Linked DNA regions of Homo sapiens: all the other regions are linked to region 2. Evidence: promoter capture Hi-C in 16 types of primary human blood cells and fetal thymus (Javierre and others, 2016). All regions are on one chromosome and are shown on one strand. The core of a region is centred on a gene start or on the middle of the fragment in contact, and the rest is flanking DNA. Distances in the headings are between cores, read along the strand shown.

The links. The method cuts DNA at HindIII sites, captures the fragments that hold promoters and counts their contacts. A CHiCAGO score of 5 or more calls a contact.
Region 1: a contact is called between a fragment that was not itself captured here and the fragment with the promoter of CCDC68 in region 2, in 3 of 17 cell types (M2 macrophages, erythroblasts and total CD4 T cells). The highest score is 7.1, in M2 macrophages.
Region 3: a contact is called between a fragment that was not itself captured here and the fragment with the promoter of CCDC68 in region 2, in 1 of 17 cell types (erythroblasts). The highest score is 5.2, in erythroblasts.
Region 4: a contact is called between a fragment that was not itself captured here and the fragment with the promoter of CCDC68 in region 2, in 1 of 17 cell types (erythroblasts). The highest score is 6.3, in erythroblasts.

Annotation. Positions count from the first base shown.
Region 1 is chr18:54,373,840-54,376,539 of GRCh38, reverse strand. C18orf54 (chromosome 18 open reading frame 54) reads right to left here. Exons shown (of 9, transcript NM_001288980.2): 8 at 2,256-2,326. Among named protein-coding and RNA genes, the nearest start is that of C18orf54, 17 kb to the right of the region's middle. The HindIII fragment of the contact is 1,493 bases long and covers 649-2,141 here.
Region 2 is chr18:54,958,018-54,960,717 of GRCh38, reverse strand. It overlaps CCDC68 (coiled-coil domain containing 68), which reads left to right and starts at 1,257. Exons shown (of 12, transcript NM_025214.3): 1 at 1,257-1,382. The HindIII fragment of the contact is 7,607 bases long and covers 1-2,700 here.
Region 3 is chr18:54,436,546-54,439,245 of GRCh38, reverse strand. No RefSeq gene overlaps it. Among named protein-coding and RNA genes, the nearest start is that of C18orf54, 80 kb to the right of the region's middle. The HindIII fragment of the contact is 516 bases long and covers 1,055-1,570 here.
Region 4 is chr18:54,413,762-54,416,461 of GRCh38, reverse strand. It overlaps the pseudogene CUPIN1P. Among named protein-coding and RNA genes, the nearest start is that of C18orf54, 57 kb to the right of the region's middle. The HindIII fragment of the contact is 994 bases long and covers 923-1,916 here.

The DNA.
Region 1 (2,700 bases), core at 146-2,645, 580 kb after region 2:
CAACATGGCAAAACCCCGTCTCTACTAAAAATACAAAAATTAGCCAGGCATGGTGGCACGTGCCTGTAATCCCAGCACTTTGGAAGGCCGAGGCAGGTGGATCACCTGAGGTCAGGAGTTTGAGACAAGCCTGGCCAACATGGCGAAACCCCATCTCTACTAAAAATACAAAAATTAGCCGGGCATGGTGGCATGCACCTGTAATCCCAGCTCCAATGAGTCTTCCTAGAGAACACATATTTCTAATTGAAGAATATAAGAAAACTGAGTATTTAAGGGACTAGACAAGGCCAGACTACTAGCTTACAGTTCCCTATGGCTAATGAAATATATCTTAAAACTGGATAGCCATCCAAATTATTAAAAACAAAAACTGTTATTTGAGGAATGTAAAGAGCCATAATAGGATTTTACCTTAGGAAAGGCCAATAAAGCCTACAAAGTATAATCAGTAACTTTTGAAATATTTTGGAAATATTTTGTAAATTTTGAAATACATTTGAAATATTTGAAGTATGAAAAGATGACCATATACCTAACCAGAATATTTTGCCGCCTGGAAAAAGGAATTCTGAGATGTAATTAAATTTAAATTGTCCTTAAAACAGTTAATCTACAGACTGAAAATAACTTTTGTAAGTCTAAGCTTACTTCATTACAGTACAAACGTCTTACTGATAATACTTTAGAAATGTAAAGACAAATTAAGACTGCTCCAGTTAATACAACAGAATTAATAACTAAAGGCCATCTAACAAAACATAAAACTTACTCTCTCTAAAAATGAAACTCCATATACAGGTAAGACTATTGATTGCTTATAGTAGAAAAAAAGTTACTATTAAAAAAATTCTAGCAAATGGTAAAAGCACTTATAGATCAGTATCGATTTTTGTGGTGATTAAATGACTTACAATCCACTGTTAGTTTTCACCAGGAAAAACATCTAGGATATGTACATTAACTCAGAAAACACATATAGGTCTGTGACAAGTGCAGTATAATGCTTTAAAGAGCAATGGAAAACTTATGGTCATTCACCTCAAATTTTAAAGCAGAATGAAGTCTTCATACTAGATGATCAACTGAGGCCCTGTTCTTAGTCTCAATGAATAATTCATCACTATCATTAGTGAGAGTAGTGTTAAAAATACAGACTTTCAAATCACACTACCTGATCTGAATCCCGCTTCTTTTACTAGCTATGGCAAGTTACTTTACTACTCCATGCCTATTCTCCGATCTGTATTATGAAAATAATAATAGTACTTACTTCATAAGGTTGTGAAGATCACATGAATTATATTCAATAGCACTTAGAATACTGAAATTTGGTAAACATTCAATGTTAGCTATTACTATCATTATTCACTGAATTCTATTAGGTATGAAACATTATACCCCAGTACTATGGCAAGCTACAAACAAAGGTGCATTATTTATACCCTAAAGATAATAAATTAAGTAGAGAGAAAAAAGTAATCATACATGATACATTTTAACTATGAAAACTATATACACATTTGTGACAATTAGATTCGTAAGTTTACATGTCTAGTGTTTTATTTTCCACCAGTTCCTTAGATCACAGAAGCCTAAGCAAATTCTCAAAGTACAAAAGGTAGCCAAGTGAAATGGTGTGACTAGAGTAGAAACTTTTAATCTCAGTATTTCCTAAGTTCAGTATTCCATCTTCTGAGGACACTTCATAGTCACACAACAAACTCCAAAATAAATACCCTTCTCTTCTGTCAATATCATGACTATAGAAACAACTTGTATTTTTCTCCATTTTATTATTTAAGACACTGTAACTAAGAAAATTAGACCTATCTTTATATCCAGGTCATTATATCTACTTTAGATTTCTGTAATGATGTTCCAAATCACGATCCATTTATTATTAAATTTATTCTAGAGAGAATATATGAAAACACATTTCATACAAGTTACTGTTATAGGATACTCACAAAAATACTATCATAAATTGTTGCTATTACTACTCAAAAATGAGTCATATCCATTATATTTTAGAGGTCTAAGGCTATCTCATTAGGTCCTTAGAACACTTTGAATAGGAAAAAGCACAAGTTTAAAAGAAAACAATGTTTTTTAGTGTAAACAGTGTGCTCCAAGAAGCTTAAATATGCCTAGTAGTGCTACTCTTAAAACTACTTACTTCTACCCTGTAACTTTACATATGTCAAAGAAATGGCTAAGATGGATTTGTATCCATATTAGTAAAGAATACTTACTTCTGAAGTGACCTAGTAATAGGAATCATACTTTCCTTCAACTGTAATTTAGAGAAATCATCTTCTGAAACCTATTATTAAAAACACCAAATATAACAAAATATTAAAATTATATAACTACAAAATTAAATGGTATTGAAAATGTGATTAAAACATTAAAAAATATTTTCTACATTTCCAAACAATTCTAATTTTCAAGAGTATTAAATATTTTTATTTTCCATTTACTGTAAAAACACTACAACTAACAGCCATTTTTCAACTGTCCTAAAGTATACTTCTACACATATGTCCATTAAAAATCAAGTCTTCGCTTAAAATTATGACTTTATTGAACAGGCTTATATCTCAATGATGTTTAGAATGAGAGGGGAAAGAAAGATAGATTACATTCTACATATTAATGTTATGATTATTAGAATGTAAGGACAGAAATTAAGAAATA
Region 2 (2,700 bases), core at 8-2,507:
GCCCAAAGTATAAAATAAATATACATGGGTCCATACTGACATAACAAATACTGACATAAATGATTGAATAAACAAGAGAGATGGAACAAATCTTCCTTACAGAATCATTCTAAATAATAACATATAGATACTCCCTGCTCTGGGATGGAGTTTAATCTTGCCCTCATCTTGAGTGTCAGCTGAATTGAGTCATGCCATTCATGCCATTCAGAGTAGAGTGTATGGAAAGAGAAAAACAGCTTTGCAGTAGAGAAACCTGGCAGACACAACCTTAACTATGGGATCAAGGTCAAGTCACCAGTGATAAGTCACCTGGCCATCGTGCCATCGTCCCTGAGAGGATGCAGTGGGGAAGGCACTTCATCTCTGAGTCTTTCCTCCCCCCAGTCTCATCATGAGAAAAAAACAGTAGACAATACCCACATGAGTGGGTGTCGAGGTACCCCCACAAAACTATACCTTACCAGAATACTTCATCACAATACTTTACTAGAATTCTTTACAGCTGTCAAAGTCAAGAAAAGACAGAGAAACTGTCATGGATTAGAGGAGACAAAGGGCACAGGATGCTAAATGCAGTGTGGTATCCTGGCTGGGATCCTGAAAGGGAAAGGCGTTAGCCAAAAAGCTAGTGACAGCTACATCAAGTCTGGAGTAGTGTTAATAGTGGCAGATCAATGTTAATGTCTTTTAAAAAATATTTTTAGTAGAAATGAGGTCTCGCTATGTTGCCCAGGCTGGTCTCGAACTCCTGAGCTCAAGCGATCCTCCCGCCTGCCTTGGCCTCTCAAAATGCTGAGATTACCAAGGCGTGAGCCACCGCACCTGGCCCAATGTGAATTTCTTAGTTTTGACAAATGTGCCACAGTTATGGAAGCTGTAGGCATTAGGAGACACCGACTGAGGGGTATATAGACGACTCTCTCTACTATCTTTGCAACTTTTTTTAAGTTCCAAAAGAAAGTTTTTTAAAAAAACAACAAAATTGCACTTGTACTCCATAAATTTATACTAAAAACAATAAAATCAAAAATTATTTAAAAAACAAAAACAAAAGTTTATAAACTTAGGGTGCAAATAGAACCTTCTTGAAAAGCAGCGGCCGATCCCCTCCCCCCACCCGCCTGTACAGCACCCTAGCGAGGGGCGTGAGGGGCAGAGCCTGGCTCTCCAGCGCTGGGCGTACGCGTCCTGCCGCGACTCCTCCCCGGGGCCTCACCGGCGCCGGACTCTGCCCTGGGCGCGCCCCGCGGGGCGGAGCCAAGCCTGCGGGCGGTGGCGGCTGCACTCGCAGGGCCCTGGCAGCCGACCCTGGCCCCAAGGTCCGATCGCCCAGGGGAGGAGCAGCACCGGGACCCCGCGTCGGCTGGGCGCCCCACAAGGTAGGCGAGTCTGGCCACCTTCGGGCCCGGTCCCTGCGGCGCGCCCCCGCATCCCCTCCATGTGTGTGGGTGTCCAGGTGCCTTTCCAGCGGCTTCCCCAGTGGAGTTCCTGGCATCAAGGACATTTCCTGTAAAAGGGTCCTTGTTGAAGAGGTAATCCTCCCTGGAAACCTCGGTTCTGGGCTCGAATTTCCTGGGCGAGAAGTTTCTTCCCCATTGGGAAGAGCTGCTTTTCCGCAGAGAGGAACCCCTACTTAGTCCGGCGCACACCTGATTATTTATTTAGGTTGTTGTTATACAATCCGTTTGTCAGGGGTCCCCGCGATTTCTGCCTGCTAATTTCAGAGGCTATGGAGAAAAGTCCTGCGGTAAACGCCCTGACCTAGGAACTCCAGCGTGGTGGCTTTGACAGGTCACTGCGCTCGCATTTTTTAAAGAGCAGAGATGAATGAAGGTGGCTGTCTTCATTCATTTGTGCGGGCTTCTGCAGCCGCAGGTGTAGTAAAAAGAGCAGCCCATTGCTTGACCTTTTCCTTAATGTTGAGTAGCATCATGATATTTTAGATGTGGAAGTTACAGAGTGCTAGGCGGCTAGACAAAGGAACACTCTTATCTTACTGAAGGTTAGTACGGGACCGTGCAAGTGTAGTTTTTAGATTGGATGATAACATAGCTGTGAATTTTCAGCCTTTTTGGAAGTGAAGACAAAATTGAATATAAGGATCAGAACAAGCAACAAGCCCTGAACATAACTGAAGGTGTACCTGCTCCCCATTATATTCTGATTGTTTTATTTTAGGAATCAAAACCTCTTTTACTTTCTTGGTGTATATAGTTCGGATGAAGTGTCAGAATACAAAAAGGAATTATTCTGTGTTTGTGATAGGGAGGAGATAATCTGTTCTTTTGATTTTACCTAATGCCATTAAATATTCAGAGCTACTGAAGTCTGGTTTTCCTGATATGTGAGCTGGGCAGGAGTGTCAGGTACCCTGGCAGACACAATTGGTGCTGTTGTTATGCTTTTCCCCCGCTGCCCACTCTCTTCCCCACCCCACTCCCAATTTGAGAGGGAAGGCCCCTGACACAGAGGAATTTCTGCCCAAGGCAGGGAGTATCCCCGTGTGGTTCCTCAAATGTTTGCAGAAAGAATGAAAACAACTACACTTCTTGGGACCCAGGCCAACGTCATAAGGCCGACGTCATAAGAAGGTTCTTTCCTCTTGTTATTTACAAAATAAATTGATCCCTTGTCCTAACTAGAAAGAGACTTTTGAAATTAATACTGTTGCTATTTTGTGAATTACTGATAGGCATG
Region 3 (2,700 bases), core at 63-2,562, 520 kb after region 2:
ACTTGAACTCAGCTAGTCCATATCTAGAAATATTTCTATGAGATCCACACGCAAAAACTGGAGGCATGGGATGATGTGTGGAGTGGCAATCATTTATCCATTTTCATTGGGATGACTATTGAGAAAGTGACATTTAAGCAAAGTCCTGAAGGTGTGGGAGGTTCAAAATCTGGCTAGAGGGAACCACCAGAGCAAATGCTGTAAGACACAAGTGTGCCAAGGGAATTGGAAGCTCAGCCCAGAGGCTTATGTGGCTGGAGAGCAGTGAGTGACCAGGAACAAGAGTAGTAAAGATGAAGTCAGAGAGGGAGTTGTGGTGGGCCATGGACAGATGGGACATGGAAAGGGGCAGAGAATAGAAGATAGATCACATAGGACCCTGTAGGATTCTAGTTTCTCTCTGGATGACATGGGGAGCCACTGGATGGTTTTGACAAGAAGATGACATGATCTGACTTAACTTAAAGATCCCTCTACTTTTCTAAAAATAGACTGAAAGTGGGATGCAAAGGCAGAAGTAGAAAGGCAACTTAGGAAGCCTCTGAAGCAAGTCAGGAGATAAATGATATAACTCTGCCCAAGGTGGTGACAGTGGCAGTAGCAAGAACTGGTCAAATTCAGGATTAGCTCAGAGTAGAGAGAAAATGTGAGAGAAAGAGAAAAGGCAAAAATGACTCCAAGGATTTTTACCTGAGTATAGAATAGATAGGATATTTGGAAGGATAGAATTGCCAGGAACCAAAATGAAAAATGCTCAGGGAGAACAGTCTTAGAACAAAAGATTAGAAATTGACTTTCGTTCCTGTTGAGTTGGAGATGTTTATCAGACAAGCAAGTGGAAATGTCAAGTGGGGAATGCCGACAAGAGTCTAGAGTTTTAGACAGAGGGTCTAAGGGAGAGATGGGCTTAGCCAGGTGGAGGAGTGAAAGCAAAGACCTCCAGCATCATCACAAGTCATCCAGGAACTGTGTGGTGTCGATTAGGCATGTATATCATTTCATCATGGTTTTCTTTACGGCATGTAAAAGGAGAGCTGTGCACTAAAGTTAAGCTTAAAGTAACTAACAGTCTTCACCATAGTATCCAGTGTTCAGCCTAACACTGCCATGAGAAGCACTAGATGAAAGTTGCCATTAAATTCTTTCCTGGCCAAGTACAGTGGCTCAAATCTGTAATCCCAACATTTTGGGAGGCTGAAGCAATATGATTGTTTGAGGCCAAAAGTTTGAGACCAGTTTGGGCAACATAGAGAGAACCCACCTCTTAAAAAAAAAAAAATTGTAATTAGCTAAACATGGTGGTGCATGCCTGTAGAGCCAGCTGCATGGGAGGCTGAGGCTGTGAAGCTGGAGGATGGCTTCAGCTCAGAAGTTGGAGGATGCAATGAGCTGTGATGGCATCACAGCACTTCATCCTGAGTGACAAAGCAAAACTGTCTCTTAAAAAAAAAAAAAAAATCCTGCAACAGCATGCACAACTCTCCAAAGCTGTGTTCCGATAATGAAGAGAATCAAAAGAGGTGGCAAGCACATTCTAGGTAGGTTAAAGTCTCTAAATGAAACCAAAGCTTTACAAAGTTGTGTTACCTTTTACCTCTCTCTTCCACAGTGAGACTAGAGGTTCAGTTAACCAGGTAATATCAATTTCTAGAGCAGTTACATCGTTATCACTCTCATGTGCTTTGTATCTAGAAAAGCAGCTTTTCAGGCCCCAGTTTTCTCATCTGAAAAAGGAAGGGATTGGACTAGGTCATTGAGTTTCAAGCCCTTTTCTGTTTTGTTTGGAGCAGAGCAGGGTGAAAGCTGGTAGAGGCATTGAGCACCCCAGTTTGACTCACCCCTTCTCCAAGCCCAACTCTATGGAGTCTGCTTTGGACACTGTTAGGAACACACCCTGAGCTTCCTGGACTAGCTGGTCCAGATGGTCCCTTCCCAGCTCTGAGGGTCCCTTTTTGTTAAATTGAATATAGTTGTAGGGTAACAAAGTGACAGTGAGGGTCTGGAACGCTGCGAGTACAGTAGCAGACAAGTACAGTAGCAGACGTACTCGCAAAGGAAGTGGTTTACTACAAGCAGGAAGTCTCTAAAATACAGTAAGAAGCCATGTGGAATTCCAGACACTGAGATGCTGTAGCAAGTGACAGAGTAATCTGGCTGGGACACTTAGTGAACAGTGGTTTTTCTCTCCTTTAAACAAAGACACTTTGGGGAAGAGTTTCAGCTAGTAATTCAAGTCCATACGAATTTCCTATATGACTATTGTGGATACATGACTGATGAAGCCCCAGTCCTACTTGAAATTCATCATGCAGATCAAGTTGCCCTTAATCAGTGTCTGTCCCAAAATACCTAAAGTCAAATTTTCTACACATCTTCTACTCTTAAGTCCTTTAGAAAGAAGTTTCTGATTCCCTATGTCCTTTATATGTTGGGTTTGGGGAATTTTTAGTGCCTGTATATACAGGTTTTTCAACATTTTATGTTGTAAGTCAGAATAGTTCTCATACTCCACGAAGAGGAGCACGGAAGGGGCCTCTCTGAATGAGCCATCATGTCTAGAGTGACTTTCCCAGAAAGATAACCAGCGTCAAGTAGCCTAAGAGGAAACTTTCCAGAGGATTCGCCAGCCCCTAGTCCATACTCCACCACCCTGACTCCCCTTCCTGCTGTCACTGCAGTTACAGGAAGCTCTATATCTTC
Region 4 (2,700 bases), core at 170-2,669, 540 kb after region 2:
GATCATTAGATCAGAGCTGCCGGTTTTAGCTTTGGCTCAGAGGACCAAACAGTGATCTTATTTTAACAATAGTGTGTGAAAAATGATTTCATACTGAAGAAAAGAGTTCAAAGTTATGCCAAAAATAATTTAAACAAACAGACTAATGCTTATAGGCACTGCTAACTAATCTAGTTGAATATATAGCCAAAGCCTGAATGTTTGTCTATCTCTTAGTTAAGCAGATTTTGTAACAACTAAAATACTACTCTCAGGACAAAAAACATAGATTCTTAAGAGGAGAGTGTGGGCAAACTAGTTATACCTGAGCAAGACAGTCATGTTCACTGGCGTTGAAGTGCCAGTGAAGGGCCTGGAGGCCATTGCTTTTTATCCTAAGTGTCCCCAGAGTCATTTGTGATCTCTGACTGTTCAAGCTGGTGCCAAAGGCCTCTTCTTCATTGCTGAGATAGTCTTTGACATTGTTCCTGTACCGGGCCCACTGGATTGTACCATCAAGGAAGTCAAACACCCGGAAAACCATAAACAAGCCACCATAAGCATGGAGGCCACCTCCTAAGAGCATGGGGCCTATAGAGTAAGAAGGAGGCAAAAGGGAAAAGGCAATGGTGGTGAGGTGAGTTTTGGAATCCCAGAAAGGAAGAGGAGGAATAGGTCTGTACGAGTCCAGGAATGGCAATAGTAACACACGCAGTGCTATCAGTCTAGACCCTGTTAGACATTTAAAGAGACACCTAGGGTGGCAAGAGAATAGAGGAATTTCCATTTGTCCACGTGCAATTCTCTACTCTAGTCAGACATGGAACTGTCTACTGAAGAACATTTCTGTCTGAGGTCAACAACGCAACTCTCCCCTCTTCTCTATCTCTCACCTTCCTTCATCCTGGCTCACAGTTCATCCCTTCCAATAGAGAATAAAGCTTAGTAAACATACAATGAGAAGGTGGTTTTAAAGTTGCCATTAAGAATAATTATTTTTCCTAATGTGTGTAATTCATACTTTAGATTTAGGTAAGTGATTAAGAAACTGAAATTCTGGATCAATAGCTTTTGATACTATGGGAGTCATTGTTTGCAGAGGCCAGGCTTCAGGTTTGAAATGAATGTCTGCATGAGTTGCTAATATAGACCAAGGAGAGCATGAGCACTCCTACTGCTGTGGTAATGATGCAGGCCAAGAGACACACCAGGAAAATGTTCACCCGTGACCACAGCCTGTTCTTTGCCTAGGGAAAATTAGAAAGCCATTATTCTCTACTTAAGACACATTAGAAATATTGCCTCCTTTCTCGGTTCTTAAATTTTTCTTTAAACTAACTTCAACTAAAATTCACTGACAAACATGATGAAAAGAGCTATTTTTTAAAGTATACTTAAAATGTATCTTTTAATTATTTCACGTTAAATCAGGACATGATCAGAGCAGGGGGTACTACATTTCTTAAGATGATAGCTGGCTTAAAGAGTTTTTCCTGAGCTCTGTGTTAAGGGTCTTAAGGGGAACTAGCCTCAAGATATAAACACCGAAATGCTGCATTGTAAAGAATACTAAAGATTCCAGCTTAGCTTCTATGTCTCATCTTCCTGATGAGGAAATTGAAGCCCAGGGTGGAGCAATGACTTGTGGAAAGCCACACTATTATCTGTAATTATAGGTGTAGAAAGAATTTCTCCTGATTCCTCTGTTATTCCACTAAATCAAAGTACTATCACTGCATATCATTTCAGGATCATTAAATTCTCTTTTTTGTTTTAGAAATCGAGTGTTGCTGTGTTGCCTAGGCTGGCCTCTAACTCCTGCCTCAAGAGATCCTCCTGCCTCAGCCTCCCAAGTAGCTGGGACTATACAAGTGCACAACACCAAACCAGATCATTAAAATGTAATACTCATGATCCAGCATTCTCAAAGGAAAGCTTACATTTACACACAACTGTAAGGTCACATTTACATTTTTAAAAGAAAATGATAGCATATAACTTTATATATCTAAGAGTAATTCTTTGCTAGACATTAGTATTTCTTCCTTAATCACTGGATTAAGTGATTAAACACTTCCTTGATCAGTGTTTCTCAAACTTTTTTTTTTTTAACTACATTCACATCAAGAAATACATTTCCCCCTGTGATCCAGTACATGTACAGATATACATGCACAAACACACACACACGTAAATACACACACACTACTGAAACAAAAGTTTCACAAAACAATATTTGTTATTGTATTAATTCCTTACACCTTATACAAAAATTAATTCAAGATGTATTAAAGACGTAAATGTTAGACCTAAAACCATAAAAACCCTGGGAGAAAACCTAGGCATTACCATTCAGGACATAGGCATGGGCAAGGACTTCATGTCCTAGAACACCAAAAGCAATGGCAACAAAAGCCAAAATTGACAAATGGGATCTAATTAAACTAAAGAGCTTCTGCACAGCAAAAGAAACTACCATCAGAATGAACAGGCAACCTACAGAATGGGAGAAAATGTTTGCAACCTACTCATCTGACAAAGGGCTAATATCCAGAATCTACAATGAACTCAAACAAATATACAAGAAAAAAACAAACAACACCATCAAAAAGTGGGCAAAGGATAGGAACAGACACTTCTCAAAAGAAGACTTTTATGCAGCCAAAAAACACATGAAAAAATGCTCACCATCACTGGCCATCAGACAAATGCAAATCAAAA